Linked DNA regions of Homo sapiens: all the other regions are linked to region 1. Evidence: promoter capture Hi-C in 16 types of primary human blood cells and fetal thymus (Javierre and others, 2016). All regions are on one chromosome and are shown on one strand. The core of a region is centred on a gene start or on the middle of the fragment in contact, and the rest is flanking DNA. Distances in the headings are between cores, read along the strand shown. Region 1 holds the start of SLC35G2 (solute carrier family 35 member G2). Region 2 has its middle 14 kb from the start of MSL2. Region 3 has its middle 11 kb from the start of PCCB. Region 4 overlaps PCCB (propionyl-CoA carboxylase subunit beta). Region 5 overlaps PCCB (propionyl-CoA carboxylase subunit beta).

Region 1 (2,846 bases), core at 114-2,613:
GCACTTGCTCTATAAAGATCTAGATTGTCTCTCTACCTCAAGAGGAATCCAAAATCCTGTTATGCTGGACTCTGAAATGATCCCCAGCCCTTTGGTGATCACACTGTTTATGAGCAGTCTGAATTCCATTCTTGGGTCTACCTAAACTAGCACCCTCGGGCTATGGGGCCCAGTGGGGAGACCACCTAGCATGCTGGCTGCCTGGAGCCCAGGGAACTGTCAAGATGGCTCTGGAAGACTTCTCGCCTTTTAAAAGCCCCGTATTTCTTTTACATATATTTTTGTCCTCATGAATTTTGCCAACCGCAATGGACTAAAATCTATTATAGCGTCCTGGAAAGGTGGGGAAAAGATGGGATAGTTGAGGAGAGTTTAATGAAGGGACTATTTAAAAAGGTGTGGATGGGGTTAAAGGAAACCTCTGGGCGTCATTACCCACTCCAGGCCTGAAGGGGCAAGGGTAGTTAGTGGTAACCAGAACCTGGAGAAAACTGCAGGAGAGGGCCACAGGATGGGAGTAATGGCTTTCAGATGAAGAACATAGCCACTGCTAACAGGGTGGCCCGCTGGGGATGCAGGGGAGGTCCTGAATCACATCCTGCCTTCTGATCTGCAGGTGCCTCCCACTTGCCAAAACCAATTGAAAGCCAGATTATAGTTGACGTAGCCCATAAAGGTCAGTCCTGAGTCACAGAGCAGAGTGGAGAGTGGGTCTGAAGGGACAGAGGAAAAACCAGCAAGCACCTCCTGTTTTTTCCCACAGCCAGCACCTTGGTTCAGCCCTTACCCTTTCTTGCCTGTCCCCTGGACCCATCAAATCCACTGCTTTTAATGACCAGTCTGTTTCCAAGAGGCTATATTCATTCCACTTGGGACTGGGGCATATGCACTTGGGTAGAAGAACCAGCTGTGCAGTGTCAAGACCCTTCCCTCAGAGACCTTATCAGTAAAATGGCGGGTGGACTCGGGGATGCCCGAAGACTTTTCCGGACCACGATTTTCCGATGCTGGACACATATTTAAACATGAAGGAATAGACTTGCGACTTTTAAGCGCAAACAATGGGTGGAAATGGACAGAAACTGCCTCCGTGCCCACTTGCAGCGGACTACGTAGCCCTGGCAGACAGGCAATTGCTTCAAACAAGCGCCCTCCAAGGGCGTAAGCTAGAGGGGCCCGGGCGGGCGCTTTCCCGTGGACCCTCCCACCTCGCGGGTAGAGGAAGTCCTTCAGTTCAGGCACAACCCTGAGCGTCCCCCGCAGTCTCCAACTCCGGCGCCAGTCAGGTTGTGGGGTGGGGGCGGCGGAGGGCGGAGAGCGCAGGCGCAGAGTCCGCGCGGCGGCGCCCCTCTCCCTCCGCAGTACTCCGGGCAGCGCCCGCCTCGATTTTCCCAGGCGAGGGCACGCCCGCGTCAGTCGCCTCCGGGGCACCTTCCTCGCCACGACACGCAGGTAACCGGGCCCCGGGAGCCGGTCGGCGGCGGCGGACTGGGACCTTGATCCTGCCTGCCCGGCCGCCCGACAAGGGAATGAGAGCGGACCCCGAACTCCACACACCCGCGTTTAGCCGCCACACCTAAGGGGCACAACAGTCTTTTTGGGTAAGGGCCGGGCTGGGGGCGACGCGCCCCGCCCGCTTTGCAGACTTCGGGGTGCTCTGCACGACGCCTGAAAGGCCGCGGGGCCCGCATTTCTCTGTGCTGCCCTCCTGGAGAACCGGGACACGGGGACGGGAGGGCCAGCATCGGCTACGGCCCGGTTTCCCGTTTCTTTCCGCTGTCGCGTGTCTGGGCCCTCCTGCAGCGTCCATGATGAAGGCCAGGGGCTGTTGCTTTCCTCTCGCCCAGTAGCCAACCCAAGCAAGGGGTGAGTCACTGTGGCGTCATATGGGATCAATTTCAAATACAAGTTTTAAAAAAGGCTGGATGATTTTAGAAATATGGCCAAGAATTTGTATTTTCCATTACTCTCTTGTCTCATGTCCATGACTCTTGAACGCCAGTCTGTGGGCGCTGAGATTTTCGTGGTACATCGACGGTTTGTAGACATCTTTTCCCAAGGGAAGACGAGGGCAAGGGTTAGTGGAGGAAGGGCCTCGTCACGGCCGAGAGTGGCGGAGAAGGCTCAGGGCAAGTCCGCACAGCCTCCAGCAGCCACGGGGAGGAAAAGGCGAATCTTTCCTCACAGTGCTCTGGGCGCTGTAGAATTTCTACGCCACGTGCACCCATTTGGCCTCATTTGAGAGGAGGAGAGGGAAGAAGGGTCGCGCGGGCCGGCAGGAAAGAGACTCGTGTTGCGGCGGATGAAGGCTCAGCGCGGACCTGCATCTCGGGCCAGGTTTTCTTTCACCCGGCTCCGCGAGGAGCGAGGCGGAAAGCTCGGGTCCGAGTGTTGATCGAGGACCTGGAGATAGTAACCCCCCACGTCCAGAGTGCTGGGGGTGGGTCCAGAGGGCTGGGGGTAGGTCCAGAGGGCTGGGGGTAGCTCCGGAGGAGCGATCTTCCTCCGCGGGAAAGGACTTGGCTCAGGCTTGCCTATGTCCGTGGTGCTGAAGTGCCTCGCGCGCCCTCGTCGACTGACTTCCTGGGCCGCGGCCTGCGTTGCCCTTCTACTCTGCACCTTTGCCAAAAATAGCCCATCTCCATGGCTGGTGGCCAGAGTGGAGCAGGCCCAACACTGAAACTCTTTTCAGACAAGTTGAGGCTGGTTTCCTGAACATAACCCGAAAGCAAATGTGGCTTGCCTTGGAGGTACAGATAAGCATATGCATAACAGATTTTATTACCTATGAGAAAGTACACACCATGAGCGTAAACAGGAATTCTCACATATACTTATGAAAGATA
Region 2 (2,846 bases), core at 131-2,630, 610 kb before region 1:
GATTTCTAACCTGAAGTTGAACAAGCTAGACTTTTTGAGCCCTTGTTATTCCTGAGCTTTGAGAGGGAGCATGGGGCAGTGGAATAGCATGAACAAAGCTTTATTTCAATACTTACTGTGTAGATTTGGGAAAAATTATTCAAGTTCTCTGAGCCTTAGTTTTCTTATCTATAAAATGGAGATAATAATAATACCTTGAAGCTGGGCACAGTGGCTCATACCTATAATGCCAGTACTTTGGGAGGCCGAGGTGAGTGGATCACTTGAGTCCAGGAGTTCAAGACCAGCCCAGGCAACATGGTGAAACCCCATTTCTACTAAAAATACAAAAATTGGCCAGGTGTGGTGGCAGGCACCTGTAATCCCAGCTACTTGGGAGGCTGAGGCAGGAAAATCGCTTGAACCTGGGAGGCGGAGGCTGCAGTGAGTCGAGATTGTGCTGTTGTACTCCAGCCTGGGCAACAAGAGCGAAACTCGGTCTCAAAAAAAAAAAAATTATCTGGGCGTGGTGGCACAAACTTAGGAGGCTGAGGTGGGAGGATCATCTGAGCCTGAGAGGTCAAGGCTGCAGTGAGCCATGATCATGCCACTGAGCTGAAGCCTGGGCAACTGAGTGAGATCCTGTCTAAAATAAAAATTAAATATATTAACTCATTTAATATGCTCAACAACACTATGAAGTAAGTACTATTATTATTATCCCCATTTCACACATGAGGAAACTGAGGCACATAGGTCTAATAATTTGTTCAAGGTCACACAGCTAACATAAGGTAAGAATTGAATCCAGGCAGTCTGGTTCCAGAATCGCTACTCTTAACACTATTCTATAAATTCACAAAGGGAGGGAACTCAGTAGGAAAAATAGGTTTGGAGGGAAATTATGAATATAGGTTTTGGACAGGTACAGTGTGAAGTGGCTATGGGACATCCAAATTAAATGTCCAATAGGCAGTTGGATAAATGAATCTGGCATCCTGGGTATAGGGGTGAGGGATTTGATTTGAAGGTATAGACTTGGGAGTCAGCAGCATATGGCAATAGAAACTATGGGAGTGATAGAAATTACCCAGGAGGAGTAAGAAGAGAAGAATGCTAAGAATGAAGTTGTGATGACCACCAATATTTAAACAAAGTGCAGAGGGAAAGGATCCCACAAAAGAGAATCAGAAGGAGAGGTAGGCAGCAAACTGGAAAGATGTTTCATTTTCAGTGAGGTAATGTGTGTAAATAATTTAGCATAATAACCAGCAGACAATAGGCATCCCAAATGGTAACTTCTTTTACCATTAAAGTCTCATTTGAAGGTTATAGTCCTTAACTGTGCTGTGGGGCTTTCCTGAACCTTTTCCACATCCCCACATTGTTTTTTTTTGTTTTTGTTTTTGTTTTTTTAGATGAAGTCTTGCTCTGTCGCCAGGCTGGAGTGCAGGGGCGCAATCTCGGCTCACTCCAACCTCCACATCCCGGGTTCAAGCAATTCTCCTGCCTCAGCCTCCAGAGTAGCTGGGATTACAGGCACATGCCACCATGCCCAGCTAACTTTTGTATTTTTGGTAGAGACAGGGTTTCACCATGTTGGCCAGGCTGGTCTCGAGCTCCTGACCCCAGGTGATCTACCCACCTTGGCCTCCCAAAGTGTTGGGATTACAGGCATGAGCCACCGTGCCCGGCTGCCTTCCAATTCTTAGCAGAGGACTTTACCTCTTTCTTTACCTCCAAGGAGAAAATAAAGATCTCCTTCTTTTCTACATCAAAATATTCCACAATTCCCCTTCCTGTCATTCTTTTCTCTGTTTCTGGTTTCCTCCAGGAATTTGCTCCATGGTTTTCCCAAGTCCTACTTCTTCAGCATCCGGTGGTATAGTGGTGAGCATAGAAACTTTCCAGGTCTTAACGTCTTCAGCCTTCTGTCCCTCACTACTATCTTCCCCAGTTCTGCCCAGCTATGCTGTATGCTCCCAAATCCATCTTTCAGTCCACATCTGTCCTGTTTTGTGATCTGTCAATCTTTTGCAAGAATTAAACCTTATTTTGATTTTTAATTAACTATTTCTTAGTCTCTTAAAATCAGATTTCTCTCCCCACAACTCTACTGAAACGATATTCTTCAAAACTACAGAGGAACTGGGCATAGTGGAGCTTGGCGGTGGGTGGCGCAACCTCCCAGCACTTTGGGAGGTCAAGGTGGGTGGATCCCTTGAGCCCAGGAGTTCGAGACCAGCCTGGGCAACATGGCAAAACCCTGCCTCAGTTTAAAAAAATAAAAATAAACCACAGAAGGCCCCCAGTGTTTGACTTTTTAAAATTATCCAATGACTATTTTGAACATTGCTGTATTAAATTGCCCTTTCTTGTCCCTATGTTATGTCTTGGGCAGATTCCATAACTTTGGTTATTTTTAGTTAATAAAATATAGTCTAATTTAAAACTTTGAATCAGAATTGGATTTAGCCGAAATCAGAGAGAACCTAAAATAACAATGCTAAAGCAAAATAGAAATTGGCTTATTCTATGTAAAAAAGAAAGTCTGGAAGAAAGCCATGCACAGTTAGTATGGCAGTTCCACTGTTATCAGGGATCCAGGCTCTGTCTTCATACTCTACCATCCAAATATATACCTTCTACCTTCAAGGTTATCTAATAGTCCAAGATGGCTCCTGAAGCTTCAGCATTTCACATTTCAACTAACAGCAAGGCAAAACGGGAACACAAGGGCCCACCTCCCAGCTGAGTCAGCACCTTCTAACCAGCCTCCAGTTTTAAGCAGCCCACATAACACTTTTCTTACATTTCTTTGGCCATAATTTAGTCACATTGCCATGCTCAGTTGGAAGGGAATCAGA
Region 3 (2,846 bases), core at 178-2,677, 580 kb before region 1:
GCCCCACTTCATACTTTTTCCCATATACATTGGCCCAGTAGAGGGTGTGGCATACATAGATAACTGTCAACTAAAAATTTGTAATCCTTCTTCTGCTGTGTGGAGTTGCTACTGGAAAGTGGCTGGCCAGCCAGGGAGTACATTGTCATCCTTGCCCTTGCGTCCAGGTGGAGGTGGGGTCTTTAATAAACAGGGCTTCCCTTCCACTTGTCTTCTTCCCCATTCTCCAGTTGAATACAGACAAATCTAGGGATGATGAACCCACAAGACAGAAGAAGCCTGGGTCCTTAAATCACCGCAAGGGGGAAAGCTGCCCACCGTGTGGAAGAATAGCTACACTAGAATGTCAGGGTAAACAACAAGCTTCTATTATGTTAAGTAACTTAAACCTTGGGGTTTGTTACAGTTGCTAGCATTATTTTAAGCAATATAGAGATCATTTGTCCTTTTCTAAGATCTTTCTCATGCTGGGGTGTGAGCATGTTACTCAGTCTCTGCCAATTTGATGTTCCCACTCAATATTATAAGTGGGGGAGCCCACTATGCAAAGATACGCAATAGTATGAAAACTATTCACAGTGGCCTTGCAAATCCAGAAGCAGTCACAGCAAGGTCTGTCAATAGTGGTATCTAGGTCAATGTCCACTGTTCTTGTGGCATGAGCTTAGCTGTGTTTTTCTGCTTCTAGATTATCTTGCTTTTTGACTCTTTTCTATCCCCCTTGATAATTCCTTCCTTCCAATAATTCATTTTCTTCTTTAGGTATCCAGGATCAGTTCTCATGTACATTGTCTTTCCCATCTATTCTGGATTCTCTTTCCAAACTAGAGTGGGATTATCACTTTTTTTTTTTTTTTTTTGAGACGGAGTCTTGTTCTGTTGCCAGGCTGGAGTGCAGTGGCACCATCTCAGCCCACTGCAACCTCCGCCTCCCGGGTTCAAGCAATTCTCCTGCCTCAGCCTCCCGAGTAGCTGGGACTACAGGCATATGCCACCACTCCCAGCTAGTTTTTTATTTTTATTTTTATTTTTATTTTAGTAGAGATAGGGTTTCACCATATTGCCCAGGCTGGTCTCGAACTCCTGAGCTCAGGCAATCCACCCGCCTTGGCCTCCCAAAGTGCTAGGATTACAGGCGTGAGCCACTGCGCCCTGCCGGGATTTTTACTTATTAAACATCTATTGCATACCGTGTACTCTACATATGTTTTCTCACTTAATTTAATCCCTCCAACTATTCTATAGGGTCAATATTATTATCATGATTTTATAAGTGAAAAAACTGTAGCTGAAAGAGATGAACTGATTTGCCTAGTTACACTGCTTGTTAGTATCATTTGGAATCCAGTTTTACAGCACCAAAGCATGCTTTCCATCCTACCAGAAACCCTTCACTAGCTCATAATGAGGGCAATCCTCTCCAGCGCCCTTTCTAGCCTATAAATTGTTCTGGAAGTGAGGAATGCATCAATATTTACTTAATCCTTTCTTACATACAAAAGGGGTTATAAGGAAAGTTCTGTTGTTGCAGCTGTTTTCTAAGCCTTCAAACAATATTGTTTTTCTTTTCACTTTTTCTTTTCCTTCCCTCCCCTGCTTCTGTCTGTCTTTCCAAAACAACAAACTAAGGGTAACTGCAGAAGGTACAGTGGTGGCACCGCTTCATTTAGTTCTCTTGCTGACTTTCCTTAGACTGCACTGCAGTCTAAGAATGCTTCTTCCCAACCTTCCCTCTTTCTCTCATTCACTCAGGATCACACTTACATCAATCATAGGGTTGAAATTTTGAGCGAGTTGGATGGGAAGAACCATATCCTAATAAAAAGTAATGATCTTTATTACTTTTTTTTTTTTTTTTGAGACGGAGTCTTGCTCTGTCTCCCAGGTTGGAGTGCAGTGGCGTAATCTTGGCTCACTGCAATCTCTACCTCCCAGCTCAAGCCATTCTGCCTCAGCCTTCTGAGTAGCTGGGATTACAGGCGCGTACCACCATGCCCAGTTAATTTTTGTACTTTTAGTAGAGACGGAGTTTCACCGTGTTGGCTAGGCTGGTCTTGAACACCTGATCTCAAATGATCCGTCTGCCTCCGAAAGTGCTGGAATAACAGGCATGAGCCACCGCACCCAGCCTTGAAAATACATATGTCAGGTAGGAAGATAAAACCTATTTTATTTAAAAGTTTGTGTATTAAAAGACATGGTCAAAAGAATGCAAAGGGCTGGGTGTGGTGGCAATCTTTATTACTTTTGATGTTCCCCAGTGAGTATATCTTAAATGTCAACACCACCCGTAGGAAACTAGATAGGTTTCCCATGGTTCATGGGAAAGAAGCTGGCTCTAGTAATGGAGCTGAGCGTCAGATAATCCCCTCTTCACAGAGAAACTAGAGTAGCAAGAGAGAAAGTTCTTTCAATGACTGAATACCCCATGTATCTGGAACCACTGGGTACTGGAAACACAGAAATAAAAATGATAGAGTCCTTATCCAAAATAAGCTTATAATCTCATGGGGAGTCATATATGAATAGCTAATTTGTTTCCAGTTTCTAGATGTTAACCTCAATTGCTTTAGAACAGCATAATTCATACCAAAAGCTCAAAATCACCCATTATAATAAAAATAATTGTGAAAGTATCATAACTCATATAGTCTTTTAGAAATGCAGGAGGAATTATAAAAGAAAAAGAAGAAGAGAGGCCACTAATTAAAACAAACATTTCTTAATCTAGTGCCATGACTCTTGCCTTAGAATTTTCTAAGCAGCTGGAAGAGGGATAGGAAAAGCGAGGATGGAGAATAAAGGAAAAAGAAAGAGTATTTCTTGTATCCTGGCTGCACTTTGAC
Region 4 (2,846 bases), core at 154-2,653, 560 kb before region 1:
ACTCCCTGCTGTGGGGTCATCTCTGTGTCACAGTGTCACTGTCAGGTGTGGGGTCCCTAAACAGGGGATAGGATAGTAGGAGAAGGAGAAGCCCACAGAGGAGGCAGGAGAAGAACCAGGAAGTAGCGTGTCCTTGAGGTGGGAGCTGGGAGCAGTAGGGACCCTCGTGAGGTGAGGTGTGCTTCTGTAGGTCTCCCTAGAAAAAACCTGTGTCAGATCCTTCACTAAGCCTGCTTTAGTTTCCACCACCTGCTTCTGCATTCTTTTTATGGCTCCTTAGGTCTCCAGTAAGTATTTGTGGAACTAATTAATTGTGTTCCAGGGTCAGGTTCTCCTTATCCCCACTTCTCTCTACCTTTTCCTCGTCCTATTTCCTTATTCATCTTCCACAGTTGGGTGGCTTCTGGCGCACACTGTCTGTCCTGATTTCCATGTCATCTAAAGTCTACTAATAACACCTATCTGCCTTGGGCAGGTTGGATAGAATGAAAGTACTTGCATTGAGATCAACGGGCAAATCTGCCCTTCAAGCCCTCCCATGAACAGCCCTTGCTTTGCTTACTAAATTGTCTGTGATGACATCACTGAGTGATCTTTGTTCCATTGTAGGGAAAGCTAACAGCCAGGGAGAGGATCAGTCTCTTGCTGGACCCTGGCAGCTTTGTTGAGAGCGACATGTTTGTGGAACACAGATGTGCAGATTTTGGAATGGCTGCTGATAAGAATAAGGTATTTGTTCAAATGGTGGTGTGAACACTTTTTAGGTGTGGCTCAGCTGGCCTACCCACTAGAATAATAATAAATCTATAAGGCTTTTATCTGAAGTCCTCTGCAGAGGCACTGCAGACATCAAGCCCAGATAATTTTTGTATTTTTAGTAGAGATGGGCTTTCGCCATGTTGGTCAGGCTGGCCTTGAACTCCTGGCTTCAAGCAATCCACCCACCTCGGACTCCCAAAGTGTTGGGACTACAGGCGTGAGCGACCGTACCCTGCCTTGTGTTTCTTTATACGTCCTCCTTCATGTAAGCATAGAGAAGTGGTGGCCCTGGGTCTTGATTGTTTTGCTTTTAGGAGGGTACATAAGGCCTAAGATGACAGTGCCATTCACTCCTATTGATGAAGTAGTAGCCCTGTGCTTGCTGTTGTAGAGCTGGGAAAGTGGGGTGGGATTCCTTCATGTTCCTTGTTCATATTGACGTTTTAGGAATTTGGGTTTTGTTTTTGTCTTTCATTGAGGCATAGTGGCCAAACTCATTAGAAGAAGTATTTGGATTTTTTAACCTTTATTTTTGCATTTTTCTGGTAGTTTCCTGGAGACAGCGTGGTCACTGGACGAGGCCGAATCAATGGAAGATTGGTTTATGTCTTCAGTCAGGTATTTCATAACTCCAATAGTCTGAACTTTTCTTGGAGGGCAGAGCCAAGAGGAAAATATGTGAAAGAAGCCAATCTTGGGGAATGAAAACTTGCTTGTAGTTTGGGGAAAATGAGGGATTTGCTTTGCTTTTCAGTGCGTGTTTCCAGAATATTGTGTGTTTTTTACTTAGGAAGAGTCCTTAGTCTGTTTTGGGGGGGATCACAGGGCACTAGCCTTGTACAAAGGTATCCCAAGAACCAGGAATTTATTCCAAGTGAATGAGATTCCTCTTAGCTGGGTTGGGTGTGTGCCTGTAGGGCATCTGTGTCCTGGGCAGTGTATGTGGACTAGAGAGAGTGCAGTGGGTGCAGCCTCGCAAAGGGGACTTGACTCTCAGAACCAGAGTCCCCCTGAGCTTTGGGCTTTCATGAATATGTTCAGAAAATTTTATCAGGGTGCATCAAGACAGATACAGTTTGTTCACACACATAGCCAAAGCTATCAATATGTTATTTTACACGCAAAAGGGAATGAAGGTTGTTAATCAGCTGGCCTTGCAATAGGGAGAGTAGCCTGATTTATCCAGGTGGGCCCAATATAATCACAGGGTCCTTAAAAGTGGAAGAGGGAGGTAGAAGAGGAGCTTATAAGGATGTGATATGAGAAGGACATGATCTGCAGTACCTGGCTTTGAAGATGGGAGAAGGGGACCATCAGCAAAGGAGTGCCCATGGTCTCTAGGAGCTGGTAAAGGCAAGAAAACACATTTTCCCCTGGAGCCTCCAGAAGGGAGCACAGTCCTGCCAACCTTAATTTTAGCCCAGTCAATCCTGTGTAGCGCTTCTAAATTATAGAACTATAAGATAATACATTTGTGTTGTTTCAAGGCACTGAATTTATATTAATTTGTTATAGCGGTAATAGAAAACTAACACAGAATATGTTGTGTACTATTTTGGATTTGACTTTTTTCTCTCCAGAGGTGGAAATATGTATATAATTTAAAATGCTTAGGTCTTTTTACAGACCTAAAGTTTGATATTAAAATTGGCTAGGCGTGGTGGCTCATGCCTGTAGTCCCAGTACTTTGGGAGGCTGAGATGGGTGGATCACCTGAGGTCAGGAGTTTGAGACCAGCTGGCCAACATGGCGAAACTCCATCTCTACTAAAAACACAAAAATTAGCTGGGTGTTGTGGGTGCCTGTAATCCCAGCTACTTGGGAGGCTGAGGCAGGAGAATCGCTTGAACCTGGGAGGCGGAGGTTGCAGTGAGCCGAGTTTGCGCCACTGCACTCGAGCCTGGGTGGCAGAGTGAGACTCCATCTCAAACAAAAAAATAATAAAATAGTTATACTTGGTTAATTTAAAATCTGTCGTAGTTAGTATGCATTTACCAATTAAATTACCTTTGAAATGTTTTAAAACTGTTATAAATTGGTCTACCAAATGCCGAAATAGAAGGAATCACATTTGTTTTGTGCAATTT
Region 5 (2,846 bases), core at 317-2,816, 540 kb before region 1:
GCAGTTCACCTGCCTTGGTCTCCCAAAGAGCTGCAATTACAGGCATGAGCCATTGTGCCCAGCCTTCTTTCAATATTTTGTTTTTATTTTTATTTTAGACACAGGGTCTTGCTGTGTCACGCAGAATAGAGTGCAGTGGCATGATCATGGCTCATTGCAGCATTGACCTTATAGGATCAAGCAGTCTTCCTACCTTGGCCTTCTGAGTAGCTAGTAGAACACCACTATGCCCGACCAACCAAAAAAACTTTCTGTAGAGATCAGGGCTCACTATATCGTCCAGGCTGGTCTCAAACTCTTGGCCTCAAGTGGTCCTCCTGCCTCATTCTCCCAAAGTGCTGGGATTACAGGTGTGAGCCAGCGCACCTGACTTTTCAGTACTTTAAATATGTCCCACTGCCTTCCGGCCTCCATGGTTAATCTTGCTGAGGATCAGTTGCATGGGATCAGTTGCTTCTATCTTGCTGCTTTCAAGTTTCTCTTATTGTGTTTTGACAGTTTGACTATAATATGTCTCCGTGTAGATCTCTTTGAGTTCATACTGCTTGGAGTTTGTTGAGCTTCTTGGGTATGTATACTTATGTCTTTCATCAAATGTGGGAAGTTTTCAGTCATTATTTCTTCAAATCTTTGACCCTTTCTTTCTGTTCTTCTGAGATTCCTATAATGTGTATATTGGTATGTTTGGTTTCCCACAGGTCCCTCAGGCTCTATTAATTTCTCCTTTTCTTTTTTCTGGTTCCTTATACTAGATTATTTTGTTTTGTATTCCAGTTTCCTGATCCTTTTTTCTGCTTGCTTAAGTCTGCTGTTGAACCCCTGAAATGAATTTTTCATTTCAGTTATTGTCAACTCCAGGCTTTCTGCTTGGTTCCTTTTCATAATTTCTGTCTCTTTGTGGTGTTCTCATTTTGTTCAGACATTGATTTCCTGATTTCCTGTAGTTTTTTCCCCCCACAGCTTTCTTTAGCTCATTGAACATATTTAAGACAGTTCATGTGCCATCTTTGACTATTAAGTCCAATATCTGGGTTTCTTCAGAGATGATTTTTGTTAAATTATTTTTTTCTTGTGAATGGGCCATACTTGCTTATTTCTTTGTATGATTTGTGATTTTTGTTGAGGATGAGAAATTCTGAATATTATGTTTGGAAGTTTGGAAGTCTAGTTCTCCTACTTTTCAGGAATAGCCGATTTTTGCTTGTCAACTGCTGGGTCCATCTGTTTGAACTTTTGCAAGCTGTTTTTGCAAAGAGTATGTTCCTTTTTTAATATGGACATTGAAATTTTAGTTCTCTTATCACTGTGTTTAACCAGCAATCTGACAGTAATTTCCTTAAATGTCTGTCTCCCAGAAGTGTGGAGGGGTGTGGAACAAACTACCTTTTTAAATCCCTTGTGGCTGGGAAGCTGCTTGAGCCAATCAGGGTTGAAACAATGCCAGCCTCTATGCTTAGCCCCTCAGCCATCAAAAGCAGTGGTCAGTAATCAGAACATACAACCTTGATTTTTCAAGGTTGAAAAACCAAGATGCAAAGGTTCTAATTTCCCAATCTGGCACCAACTAGCTACACTAGGAACATCCTCGTGGCTACCTGCCATGGGTTGTTGGCTGGGGGATTATAGCAGCCATGTTATTAATAAATGTGAAGTTTACTGAAATTTACTTGCTGTTTTATCAAATTCTCCTCTGGGCCCTGAAGTGTTTGAGTAGACTCCAGAGTTCAAAAATAGTTGCTTTAGACAGCTGAATAGTTGTTTTGATCTCAGATATTCTTGGAGCTTCCTGTTCTCTCTTCTGTGATGTCACTCAGTTTTTTTATGGTAAGCATATAGTTTTAGTGTACCATTTTAATTTCTAGTGTTTTTTAGCTGTATTTTTTGAGTTATTTTTAGTAGTTGCTCTAAGGGTTACTATATATCTCTTAATTTATCACAGTCTGCTTCAAATTAATACTGACTTAATTCTGGTAAGACAGGAACTTTGCTCCAATGTAGCTCCATTTTCTCCCCCTTCATTTGTGCTTTTATTGTTATGTAATACTCAAAACAGTGTTAATTATTGCTTTATACAGTCTTGTTTTTCAAAGTATTAAGAAAAGAGAACTATACTTATGCAGTGTTTATAATCACATATTTATCATTTTCAGCACTCTTAATTGGTTCTTGTGGATTTGAATTATAGTCTGGTGTTATTTTCTTTCATCCAGTAGGACATTTTGAGCTGGTATGGGCAATGGTGGCAGCCTTGGTTAAGAATGCCACAGGCTTTCACTGTTCTTATCTCAAGTTTAGTAGTTTTTCATGAATAAACACTTCTCAATTTGTTACATTTGGCTCATTTTTAGAACCCCAAAATACTCGTTTTTGACAATGCTGTCCAGTTGTTTTTGGGGAGAGAATTTTCTGAACTCTTCACTCTGCCACAGCTGGAAGTCTCCCCTACTACCTTGATATCTTTGCAGAAAGCATAGATTACATTTTGCACTGTCCTTAGCTGTGTATAGATTGGGCTTAGAGCCAAGGCAGGCTGAAAAGTGAACCTACTTTTCCTAAGCTGATGGGACTTAGGAGAAGGAAAGAATTTGGAAGTAGGGCAAAGAATAATTGGGCCTTTTATCATCTTGCCTGGGTCTTTTGAGCCCCCACATCCTATCTTTCCTGAGGCTTAGTCCTTCACAACACAGTGTCCTTATGGAGGCTTTCTGGCTCCTTCTACCGCCTTCTCTCCTGCATTCCTTGTCTGGGGATGGGCAGAGTAGACACTGGGTACTCAGTGTCAAGAAGCACCTGCTTGTACCCTTGCGTGCCTTCTGTGGAGGGTGTGGAGGGACTCAAAATAGAGG

The links. The method cuts DNA at HindIII sites, captures the fragments that hold promoters and counts their contacts. A CHiCAGO score of 5 or more calls a contact.
Region 2: a contact is called between a fragment that was not itself captured here and the fragment with the promoter of SLC35G2 in region 1, in 1 of 17 cell types (fetal thymus). The highest score is 5.1, in fetal thymus.
Region 3: a fragment that was not itself captured here is called in contact with the fragment with the promoter of SLC35G2 in region 1 in 4 of 17 cell types (neutrophils, total CD4 T cells, fetal thymus and 1 more); the score reaches 6.3 in neutrophils.
Region 4: a fragment that was not itself captured here is called in contact with the fragment with the promoter of SLC35G2 in region 1 in 1 of 17 cell types (neutrophils); the score reaches 6.0 in neutrophils.
Region 5: a contact is called between a fragment that was not itself captured here and the fragment with the promoter of SLC35G2 in region 1, in 1 of 17 cell types (neutrophils). The highest score is 7.1, in neutrophils.

Annotation. Positions count from the first base shown.
Region 1 is chr3:136,817,763-136,820,608 of GRCh38, forward strand. It overlaps SLC35G2 (solute carrier family 35 member G2), which reads left to right and starts at 1,364. Exons shown (of 2, transcript NM_025246.3): 1 at 1,364-1,866. RefSeq lists silencers at 1,389-1,448, 2,512-2,561. The HindIII fragment of the contact is 16,057 bases long and covers 1-2,846 here.
Region 2 is chr3:136,209,023-136,211,868 of GRCh38, forward strand. No RefSeq gene overlaps it. Among named protein-coding and RNA genes, the nearest start is that of MSL2, 14 kb to the left of the region's middle. The HindIII fragment of the contact is 2,568 bases long and covers 97-2,664 here.
Region 3 is chr3:136,237,837-136,240,682 of GRCh38, forward strand. No RefSeq gene overlaps it. Among named protein-coding and RNA genes, the nearest start is that of PCCB, 11 kb to the right of the region's middle. The HindIII fragment of the contact is 2,133 bases long and covers 362-2,494 here.
Region 4 is chr3:136,255,247-136,258,092 of GRCh38, forward strand. It overlaps PCCB (propionyl-CoA carboxylase subunit beta), which reads left to right. Exons shown (of 15, transcript NM_000532.5): 2 at 610-729; 3 at 1,309-1,377. Among named protein-coding and RNA genes, the nearest start is that of PCCB, 6.3 kb to the left of the region's middle. The HindIII fragment of the contact is 3,549 bases long and covers 1-2,846 here.
Region 5 is chr3:136,280,582-136,283,427 of GRCh38, forward strand. The region is part of intron 5 of PCCB (propionyl-CoA carboxylase subunit beta); the gene reads left to right. Among named protein-coding and RNA genes, the nearest start is that of PCCB, 32 kb to the left of the region's middle. The HindIII fragment of the contact is 8,625 bases long and covers 1-2,846 here.